Regions from separate parts of the Homo sapiens genome. Here regions 1 and 2 are each linked to region 3. Evidence: promoter capture Hi-C in 16 types of primary human blood cells and fetal thymus (Javierre and others, 2016). All regions are on one chromosome and are shown on one strand. Each heading gives the region's core, a stretch centred on a gene start or on the middle of the fragment in contact. The rest is flanking DNA. Distances are from core to core; before and after follow the strand shown.

Region 1 (3,609 bases), core at 713-3,212, 950 kb before region 3:
TTTTCATGTGTTTGAATATTTATTATGAGAAGGGTGCTAATTGGAATTTCTCAGATAAAGCTGTAAGACTTAAATAATAACAATAGATATTTTTGTTGGAAATAAAAAGTAACTCTGCATTAATAAAAATAATTATGTTCTGAAGCAGAGTTCCCAGGGAGGCTGCAATAAGTCTATCCTAAAAGTGCCTGAGATGATTAATGTTCTTCCCGAGAGTCTGGAAATGATAACAGTACCATCTTGATGGGATTTTCTGGTCTCAGTTTTGTAACAGTCAATATATTATAAGTTGGGGTTGTTTCGTGTGAGTTAGGTTGCTCCTCACTAGGAAGCCCAAACTGGGAAACTATTATTATAATAGGTTTACTGTGAGCAGCTTTGTTAATGGAAGTTAAACTTTATGGCTGCATTTCATAAGGAAAAAAAACTTCCAAAGACAGAGTAGAATGCTAATAAAAATTTAATTTACACTTTAACATGCTCTCTTGTAAAAGTATTTGTGGGACTAGGTTTAGATAAATTTCACTCAATTCTCTTTATCCTGATATAAAGACATACAACTAAAAGATGGACAGATTTATTATCCTGATGATCTATTGTTATATTGGGTACTTGTACTAATGGTTAATGTGCGAACTCCAACATCCAAAATACAATTATTCCAGAAGAATAACTGCTAAATGGGCACTCTTGCAGGCGTTGCTTTACAATCTTTGTAAAAAAAAAAAAATCATTCAGTCCTAGGCAATATTTTTGCCCTATAAAAATAAATTATTTTAAATGTGCTCTATGAGAACTGTAATTATCTATTTCTTGCCATAAAATAAATTTTGAAACCCATAACTTTCCAGAGTATTAAATATTTTACTCTGGAGGTCAACAACAAGTGAGAACAAACTTAAAATATTTTTGTTATGGTTTTATAGTATAATATGTGGCTCCTACTCTAAGTACAATTCCTAAAGAAGCTATATTTCCACATGACCAGCAAAATGATGGCTGAAATGCATTAATTAACCTTTACACTCATATAAAAGTGTTTTGTGAGAACAAATGTACACAAATGTTATCTTTAATCATGACTAATAAAAATGGATATTATAAACACAAGCTTTACTACTGCAAATGTCTCCTTGACAAATGACAGGGCCTGATTCCTTTATTAAAAGATAATTAAAAATGTTTCACAAGGGATTCAAAACCTTCCTACAGTTCTCTCCTGCCTGCCTGCCTGCTTTGATGGTAATATGAAGAGAATCTTGAAATAACATCTAATAGTTATATTAAATGTGAATGTGTAAATTTATTTTATTCAACAAAATGTTAAAACTAAATATCTCTGGCCTATGGAAGTAGTTAAGGAGGCATTTTGAAATGTGCTAACCATGATGGGACTGAGGAGATTAAGTCAATGTTATTTCTGGAACTGGTCATCAGAGTGTGTTCCCACCAGAAATCGATGCTGTGCTGAGCCTGCAGAACGCCATGTGTCTCATACGTTACAACCCACACGGCCTCATAGCTCTCTTTCTCCCAAAGCCTAAATCATGGCAATTATTTGAATAAGCCCCAGGTAAGCTATTAAAACTAGGCATCAATTTGGAAGTATTTTCTCTTCAAGGTGAGTCTGTGATCAGAAAGGAGAAGACCATCTCTGGTCTGTTTAAATAAAATGGTGATATCACAGGTGTGACCTCTGCAATGGGAGCTCACCTCTAACATGGAACAGATATGAGACTAGCAGCAATCGGTGAAAGATGGATTCCGAAGCCAGATGGCCTGGGCCCAAATTCTGGATCTGACTAACTGTGTGACCTTGAGTAAGATACTTCAACTTTCTGTGCCTCAGTTTCCATATCTGTAATAGAACCTACTTAGGATTATTAAGTGATTAACACAGTTAATATGTGGAAAGTTCTTAGAACAATGCCTTGCATGTTATATGTGCTATACAAGGGTTAAATCAATCAATAAAAGTTACTTCCCATAGAGAATCTGGAATTTATGAATACACCAGAAAAACAGTTGAAAGAAAGCACCATTGCGGGAAAATGTTTGAGTAAAGAAATAGGAAGACTTATTGGCTCGAGGCCCTCAAGTTTAGATTTTTGTCATCTCCAAATGAGGTTATACAGAGAGCCCTGCCCGACTGCCAGAATTAAACATTTAAAACATGAATTACTTTTGTAATGCTGTCTTAAGTGTGTCTTCCTTTCCTTCAATGTACAAGAAATTGCAAAAATGGAAAGTTTCCCAGCTTCTGAGAGACCCTGAAATGAACTGTTAACAACAACTGAATGGCTAACTTTGAGACTTAGTCCAACTTTGTGTTGAGTAACAGTATATTCTGCAAACCCTGAAGCTAGTTTTATTTGGGATCATGTTTTTAGTGCCCTATTTGGGAAATGTTATATTTTTTAATTTGAGATATTTCGTGTATTGTATCATTTTTGCAGCATAATATTTCCAGAAAGGTGGTAATGGCTGCATGGTCAGCCAGTCACTGCATGGGAGACCTGACTATGTCTTTGATGCTATTCCTTGAAGATCCTCTTTCTGATCTGTAGGTTGACTTCCTTAGAAAGTTAGAATTGAATAATGAAGATCCTTTATTGGCTTAGATAAGCAGAAGAAAACACTCTTTTCAAATATACAGTCATACTCAATAAATTCTTAAGAATTTTCTCACATGGTATTCAGGAAGAAATACTCTTAGAATAATTTGGTAAATAATAAATATAAGATATATTGAGACAGCAATCTTTTGTTTTAATTTCTTCAGTATTGCTATTCATAAATGATAGTAAGCTTGCATTATTGATTTATCATCCTTGTCAACTGTGCCACAAGCCGCATTCACATTCATTTCTTCTTAGGCAGGCTGTCTGTCTCTCTCTCTCGCACACACGCACACATGCTCACACAGAGAGCCAAATTCTTATTTTCTACCTTTCTCTCGAAGGTCTTCTGCCGAGTCCTGCAATATGAATATAATTTTAAAAATCCAATTAAGAGAGAGTGATGGGGCAGAACACATAATTCCCAGAGTAATAAAATCCCCAGGTATATGAGTTCGGAAGTAAAATATTTTGTAAAGATTACCATAGATTTAAAAATGTTAAGACATAATACCAGAGCTTACCAGGAGGGATACCTGTATATTACAAGTTAATATCCCTAAAACTGATGTGTTTAGTGGTCAGAATCAGCATCATCTGGGAGCTTGTTCGGAAGACAGAATGTCTGCCTCAAGCCAGATGTATTGAATCAGAATTTGCATTTTAATGAAAATCAAAGGTAATTCATATGCACATCAAAGTTTGAGGAACACAGTAATATGACACTATTAAATATTTTATAGCTGGATTAGAATTACATAAAATGTAATCAAAAAATAATTCTATCAATGCATATTTAAAAAATCCACTTTTGATGATACCCAAAATTAGTTTATACTTATATATTTCTTCTTACTTCGTTAAAATTAACATCGATTTTCTAATAAACAGAAAACCACTACAAGGAGATGCTCAATAATTGTTGAAATCTGATAAAACTAGATTGAAATCACATTGGATTAGATTTAAAAAGGTATCTTTAAATGGAAAA
Region 2 (3,541 bases), core at 809-3,308, 780 kb before region 3:
AGCTGAGCCTCACCTGGCACTAAGCTGGGTAGATGTTTAGTTGTGAATGTGGTTGTGTAGCTCATATCCATGTACTTGACTTCAAATTATCCAAAGAATGATAGAAAGATTCAGATAGATAGAGCTGGAAGATTATATGGAGATTTCTCAAACAACTAAAAATAGAACAACCATTCAATCCAGAATTCCACTACTGGCTATTTCCCCAAAGGAAAATAAATCATTATATCAAAAATATACCTGCACATGTATGTTTATCAAGACACTATTCACAATAGCAAAGATATGGAATCAACCCAAGTATCCATTAATGGATTATTGGACAAGAAAAATGTGATATACATATATATATATATATATATATATATGCACACACACACACACAACATATACATGCATTTATGTGTATGTATGTATATGTATATACACACACCATGAAATACCATTCATACATATACATATATACACACACACCATGAAATACCATTCAGCTATGAAAAAGAATGAAAATTATGTCTTTTGCAGCAACATGCATGAAGCTGGAGGCTATTATCTTAAGTGAAACAACTCAGAAACAGAAAGTAAAATATCACATGTTCTCACTTAGAAGTGGGAGCTAAATAATGTGTACGCATGAACATAGGGTATGGAATGGTAGAGAGTGGAGAATCAGAAAGGTGAGAGGTTGATGAAACTCAGAAAGAAAGGTGGGTGATGAAAAATTACTTAATGGACACAATGTACACTATTTGGGTGATGGCTACACTAAAAACCCAGACTTCACCACTAAGCAATATATTCATGTAACAAAATTGCACTTGTACCTCTAAACTTATACAAATACATAAAAGAAATAGCTGGAATTCTAATATCAGAGAGGTGAAGTCCACCCCTGAAACCCAGCAGCGGTTAGGAGGCAGAAATTAAGCTCAGGAGAGCTTACCATGCCAGAATTCTATGGGTAAACTGATACAGAATGGAAGTAAAACAGTGTAAAAAAGGATATGAGATTTTGTGCTAAGTTCCAAATATTTAGGGATGATGAATTTGTGATGGTGAGTGGTTGGGGTTAGCTTAAATATTTGAAGAGTTGGAGAGTTTTAGGATTAAATGAGTTAAGCCAAGAAGAGTATTTAGAATAGTCACTGGCACATAGTAAATTCTCACTAAATGTTAGTTCTTTTTAAGATGTTTGTAATTTTTATCCCATATCCTACTCCCATTTCATATAGCAGCATAGTTGCATATCATATTACATAGAGAAAATTTGGGCTATAAGTTATGCTTTTTAAGCTTTTCTTCCCTATAGCTATATGCAATTATCCATTATCACTTTCTGTTTCACCACTTCCTCTCCTGAGTCAGAGGAAGTGGTTATTGATGGTTCTTCATCCCCACTTAGCTATACAGAACACACACACACACGTACACAAATTAGATTTTGTCAACATTAAAAACATTTTGTTTTCAAAAGAGTTAAGAAATAAAAAGACAAGCTACAGAATGGGAGAAAATATTTTCAAAACATATGTCCAAAAAGACATGTATCTAGAATATGCAAAGAACACTTAACAACTCATTGATAAGAGTACAAACCTCCCAATTAACAAGTAAGACAAATATTTGAACAGTCATTTTGCCAAATACATTTTGTATGTATACTGTAAACACGAAACATGCTCAGTATCTTTACTCATTAGGGAAATGCAAACTAAAAAGGGATACCAGTACCTATCTATTAAAAAGTCTACAATGAAAAAGACTGTGAATACTATGTTGAGGAGGGTGTGGAACAAGATGAACTCATACACTGTTGGTAGAAATGTAAAATGATGCAACCACTTTGGAAAATGAGTTGGCAATTCTTTAAAAAGTTAAGCATACACTCAACCATTCCACCCCATGTATTTACCCAAGAAAAATGCATGCACCCATTCAAACATTTGTACACACGTATTCACAACAGTTTTATTTGTATTAGACAAAAATGGAAACAATATATAAGTGGATAAACACATGGTGGTATATCCATGCATTTTCCACTGCAGTTCGAAAACACAGTTTATGACTTGATCAAAACGAGTTTAATGGTGACAGCTTCAAGTTTGGGGCCATTTTTCCTGTCTCTGGTATGGTGTGCCCTGCAGCCTGGCAAACTCTTACCTATATTTGAGATGCTGCTTGGTATCTCCCTTTGTTAATCTCTCACTCCTTGATCCCATCACAAGGTTCATTACTGCCTACTTCGGGACACTGTTGTGATAAGTCAATTTAGTAAACTGCGTAGCTGATAATTTTGTAACAAAGACTATATGTTATTCATCTTTGGTTCAATTTTCTCAACTACTACAAGAATAAATAGATGAATGTGTGAATCCTTAAAGAAGAGCTACACATGCCTCAAATGTTCTACTGGTGGGTGTGTGACCATACATAACTGGGCTGCCCCATCTGGGCTGCTTAGCTGGTCTAAGTTTGGCTGAAATTTTTCAGGAAAGTCATGGATTTAGATTTAAACAAACTATTTTCTAGAACATAAAAGATTCTTTCCTTGATACCGGACAATATCCTGAAAAGTCAGAATAATAAAAAATTTGGAAACAAACGAGTAGCTTTGCATAAAACCTAAGGTGCTAAATGTCATTAAAAAGGCAACTTTTTCTTCCAGCCTGGCCCTCGGGCTGTGTCTTGTCCAGAATACCAGGTGGGGTCAAGGGCTCTACCACTTTTCCAGTGATAAAATGTGGGCTGGCAACTGCCAAAATTCAGCTTAACAACTTAACTTGTAACCTATTGGGACAGAATAAGCTAGAAGAAGCTTTTCTGAGAGTCTGATGAAAATTAGCAGGCTTCTTTTTAATAGATTTACCGAGGTATACTCATAGTTTTCTATGTAATTTTAGGGACTTTGCTCTTCTCCAAACACTTATGATAAAAACCCTGCATCAAATAATAATAGGATAATGCCTCATCAGAATAATCAGGATAATTTGAGGAGAATTTATTAACAAACTATATTAGATCCTTTGACTGAGGTAATAAATTATCACGGATGTGGTGGCTCAAAACAAGAAAATATTATTCTTAATTCTGGGGACCAGAAGTCCAAAACCAATATCATAGGACAGAAATCATGGTGTTGTCAGGGTCGTGCTCTGGAGACTCTAGAGGAGAATCAGTCTGTGCCCATTTCTGGGCTGGCTTCTGGCATTCCTTGGCTTGTGGCTGCATCACTTCAGTCTCTGCTTTCGTGGTCATCTTGCCTCCTCCTCTTCTGTCTGTGTCTTTTCTTCTGTTTGTTACAAGGACAGTTGTGATTGCCTTTAGGCCCACCCTGGTAATCCAGGTTAATCTTCCCATTTCCAGATCCTTAACTTCATCAGATCTGACAGATAATTTTTTTATATAAGATAAAATTTGTGGGTTCCAGAGATGATTGGGTAGCCATTATTCAACCTCCTACATGAAGGGACTATTGATAAAGTAGGCAAGGTCTAGTAGGAGATCCACAGCAGGGAGGCTGGCCAGAAGCATAGGTTCT
Region 3 (3,696 bases), core at 484-2,983:
ATTATATTTTAAAAACATTCGTAGTAAGGTTTCAATAGTAATATCTTAGCACTGTTAAAATGTAAGGTCCACTAAAATGTAGGTTCGATGAGAGTAAAGCTTTATCATTTTTATTCTTTGCTGCAACCTAGAACCTAAAAAGATGCCCATAATAGACATTTATTTAACAACAAATATTTATTGAGTACCTACTTTGTGTCAGACATTGTTTTAGGTGCCTAGGATACATAAGTGAAAAATCAGATGATGATCTTTGTCTTAATAACAAATGTTGAATAAAATAATAAAAATCTGCAAACTGTTCAAAACACTTTATAGATAATATGTAATAAAACCTTATCATATTATATATGATAATCTCATGAGAATTCCATAACCCATGCTTTAATCCCACCAAGATACAAAAGTATCTTGAAAGTAAAATATACTGTACTATCATTACAATTCCTTATTTCATGGAAACTTGAATTATCTTCCAAAAACACATAAGCAAAAAACAAGACCTTCATTAGGCCATAGCATACTGCAGCTGTCCACAAACGGAAAATTATCAGAATCATTTATCAGAGCAAAAGCACGAAATAAACTTCTACTCATGTTATTACATCTGCTTTTTGGTGAATAGGTGACTGAAAAAGTTACCGGCTACCACTTTGCACTTCATCACACAATGTAGAATATTTTACTCCCTGGCATGCAACAATACACAAGACTCAAAAGCTTCTGCTCATTCTTAATTCCAACTGAATCCGTGTAAACTAGGAGACGGGGGAAAGGAGCTAAATCAAGACAATAGGATCTTTCAATTCTGAAGGTTTGTTCTTCATCATAACAAATTAAAAAATCTTGAAACTGTTGTTGCCAATGCTAGTTATTGTGGTTTTTGTCCTTCCTTTGTTTTTAGGTGAATGCTTTCATTACACAGGATAAAATGGGTAAACAGAATAGAGAAAAAGTGAAAGAACTGGGAACAAAGCAAAATCTGGAGTCATGGTTACAGTACAAAGATAAACCCAAAGATAAGGAACCAATACAGGCTCTTCCTCACACAGCGGCCGTGAATAAGTCATCAAATCCTCCGGGTAATCTATTGTACCGGCTCTAAAGCTGGCCAGTGACACTTCCTTAGGAGATGCTCTGACATCCCTCCGACAGAAGATGCTGTCGAAATGTAAAAAGCCGGTTACCTAGGGAAATCGGCCAAGGAATGTCAGGAGCTCGAGGCTGGAGACACACCCCGGGGCTGCAGCACAAAGTGGCCTGTTGGTGTTAAGGCCGTGGACAATAATGGAGAGAGTCCAGTACAAGGAAAACAAAATCTGGCCAGAGACTGGGATCACTAAAAGGGCACTCAGGAGTCAAGCAAGATCAGAAAATGGTAGGAAGAGACGTGCAGGCGTCTTGCCAGGGGCAGGATCTGGCTCCGGGCGGGAAAGCCCAGTTGAAGACCGTCTGAGGCGGGGCAGCCTGGTAGCGTTAGCTCCACCGCATCGGGGACTGTCCGGTTCCCTTCGGCCCCAGCCTCCGGAGGCGCGGCGGGACGCGGCGAGGTCCGCCGCACCGAACCAGCCCTCGCCTTCCTGCTACTGGTGTCCAGGGTCCCCAGCTGTTTCGGGCCCGCTCTAGCCGTCCTGCCCTCATCCCTTCATCGCCTCACCTTCCAGTCCCTCCATCGCGCCACCTCCTCGAGCTCAGCGAGACTCCTTCAGCAGCGCCCGCCACCGCCCAGCTCTGGCTGTAGCAACCCAGCCGCACCTCCCACCCGCTAACATTCCGAGCTCCCATTGGTTCCGCAACTGCGGGGGCGGGGATCCGTGGGGGCGGGGCCGCGGCGGAGGCGAGGTTCCTGCGGTCTCCTCCTGGCTGCCACCCCTGTCCGTCTCTCCGGGTTACTCTCCAGGGAGCCGGGAGCCGCTTCAGGTTGCAATCTGCGATGCAACGGCGCCTTTGTTTGACTCCAGCCTTGTTTTGCCTCATACCTTATCCTCCTATTTAGAGTACCTCAGCACCTCATGGGCTCCGCTTCACCAGTTCCTCAATCAGTCAATGCCTCTGACTTCTAGCCGCCATCCCTCCCAGTGGATACTTTAAGCAGGCAAGCAAACCAAACAAACGCCCAGCACGCTTGCATGCAGCAATCTCCGTTTTCCGGTCTTTGGTCGCATGACTTGACCTCAGCGTATCCCCTACACTTGATCTTCACACACAGCTTCATAGGTTAAGACACTTTTTTTCCAGAGAAATCATACTTTCTATCTGCGATTGTGGAACTGCGATTGCTCTAAGCCCTTGAAAACAGTTTCCTCACCATGAAAGCTTGGGCCAAAAATTAGAAGTGAAACCCAGCCCTCCCTCTGTCTTCTACTCTTGGCCTACCTTGGCCCTATACTTTATCATCCATAAACCAAAACAGTCGCCTGGCCTGACAATGTTTGATCGGGGAAGTTTGAGTTGGGGAATTAACCTACAACCTGACAGAATGAGGCCCGCCCGTCTCTAACAGAGTTCAAAACCTCCTGAAGATGAAAGTAACTTCAAAACTAACTCAGACCATTTTAACGGTTTTGCTTACAATTACCAGAACTACATTTCTTTGAAAATTTGATTTAGCAATCGTAAACAAGCTGTACTGTTTGCTGACTATAGCGTATCTACTGGCAAGTTACCAGTATTAATGTGTTGTCCATAACAAACCTCGGATTAATGTTATTGTTAATCTGTTTAATTGAAGAGTTTAACTTCATATCTAACTTCATCTACTATGAAATCAGTTACCTTCAGGAAGCAGGATTCCTCCTACTCTCCACTCACATGAAGGTATGTTTAAACAAGCAAACACTTGAGGGGGCATCATCTCTTACTGAGAAGGTGCTCCAAGTGCATTTGAATGTGGTAGAGTCCATCTGTTGTGTGGAGCCATGTAAAGACCACTTCAACCATGCCTCAATGACTCCCTCCGCCCTTCCCTGGTTCCCCTGGCTCTTCTGCTTCTCTGAGATCCTGGGCCTCCTTGGCCAACCCATAGCCTTGCAGGCAATAAGCTACTCTAGACTGGGTGCTGCGGAAAGGTCCTTTTTCTTCCTTAGTGCTACTAAGGCAAAGGTAGAATTTTTGGTTGGGAGGGAAGGCCTTTTAAAAGAGCATTAAGGAGAAAAAAAAGCACACAGAAGAAAATACAAAAATAAGGAAGCCATTATTTTACAAATTACAAGTTCTTTCACTGAAGGCAAGACGAATATTGAGTTGGCTGATACCTTATTCGACATAAAATCTACAGTAACATTAAAAATAATAAAAATAGCATTAAAGAATAAATCATGTGAGGCATGTTTTAGGCCATTTTCATATATTCACAAATCTTCAAAAGAAATCTACAAAGTAGATACTACAATCTTCATTTATCAGAATTAAAATGTTCATTTTCTAGATGTCTCAGAGCAATTAATATTTTGTCAATATTTGTATTATTAGTGGATGGTAGAGCTTGGCTACACTCTTGTCTGTTAAATTCTAAAGCCTATGGTGATTTGATTGGGCTCCTCACTCCCTTTCCTTGCCTTGCCTTTTATTATAGCTGCCTCAAGTGTAAACCCAAGCGTTCAGACATGTTGTTTAACATATATTTGAGTAGGCATTTCTATTGTGAATCTTAATTCTCTAAAACATGATTGCTAGTCTTCCCTACAGGTATCTTCA

Evidence for each region. Contacts are between HindIII fragments. The CHiCAGO score rates a contact against its expected background, and 5 or more counts as called.
Region 1: a fragment that was not itself captured here is called in contact with the fragment with the promoter of ZC2HC1A in region 3 in 1 of 17 cell types (naive B cells); the score reaches 5.7 in naive B cells.
Region 2: a fragment that was not itself captured here is called in contact with the fragment with the promoter of ZC2HC1A in region 3 in 1 of 17 cell types (monocytes); the score reaches 8.2 in monocytes.

Annotation. Positions count from the first base shown.
Region 1 is chr8:79,616,190-79,619,798 of GRCh38, reverse strand. The region is part of intron 1 of STMN2 (stathmin 2); the gene reads right to left. Among named protein-coding and RNA genes, the nearest start is that of STMN2, 6.9 kb to the right of the region's middle. The HindIII fragment of the contact is 1,697 bases long and covers 1,114-2,810 here.
Region 2 is chr8:79,441,666-79,445,206 of GRCh38, reverse strand. No RefSeq gene overlaps it. Among named protein-coding and RNA genes, the nearest start is that of MIR12123, 110 kb to the right of the region's middle. The HindIII fragment of the contact is 1,525 bases long and covers 1,296-2,820 here.
Region 3 is chr8:78,664,126-78,667,821 of GRCh38, reverse strand. ZC2HC1A (zinc finger C2HC-type containing 1A) reads right to left here and starts at 1,733. Exons shown (of 9, transcript NM_016010.3): 1 at 1,658-1,733. The coding sequence starts at 1,673. It overlaps LOC105375911 (a long non-coding RNA gene), which reads left to right and starts at 1,843. Exons shown (of 4, transcript XR_007060972.1): 1 at 1,843-2,817. RefSeq lists enhancers at 1,580-1,629, 1,594-2,101, 2,102-2,610 and a silencer at 1,700-1,919. The HindIII fragment of the contact is 1,596 bases long and covers 723-2,318 here.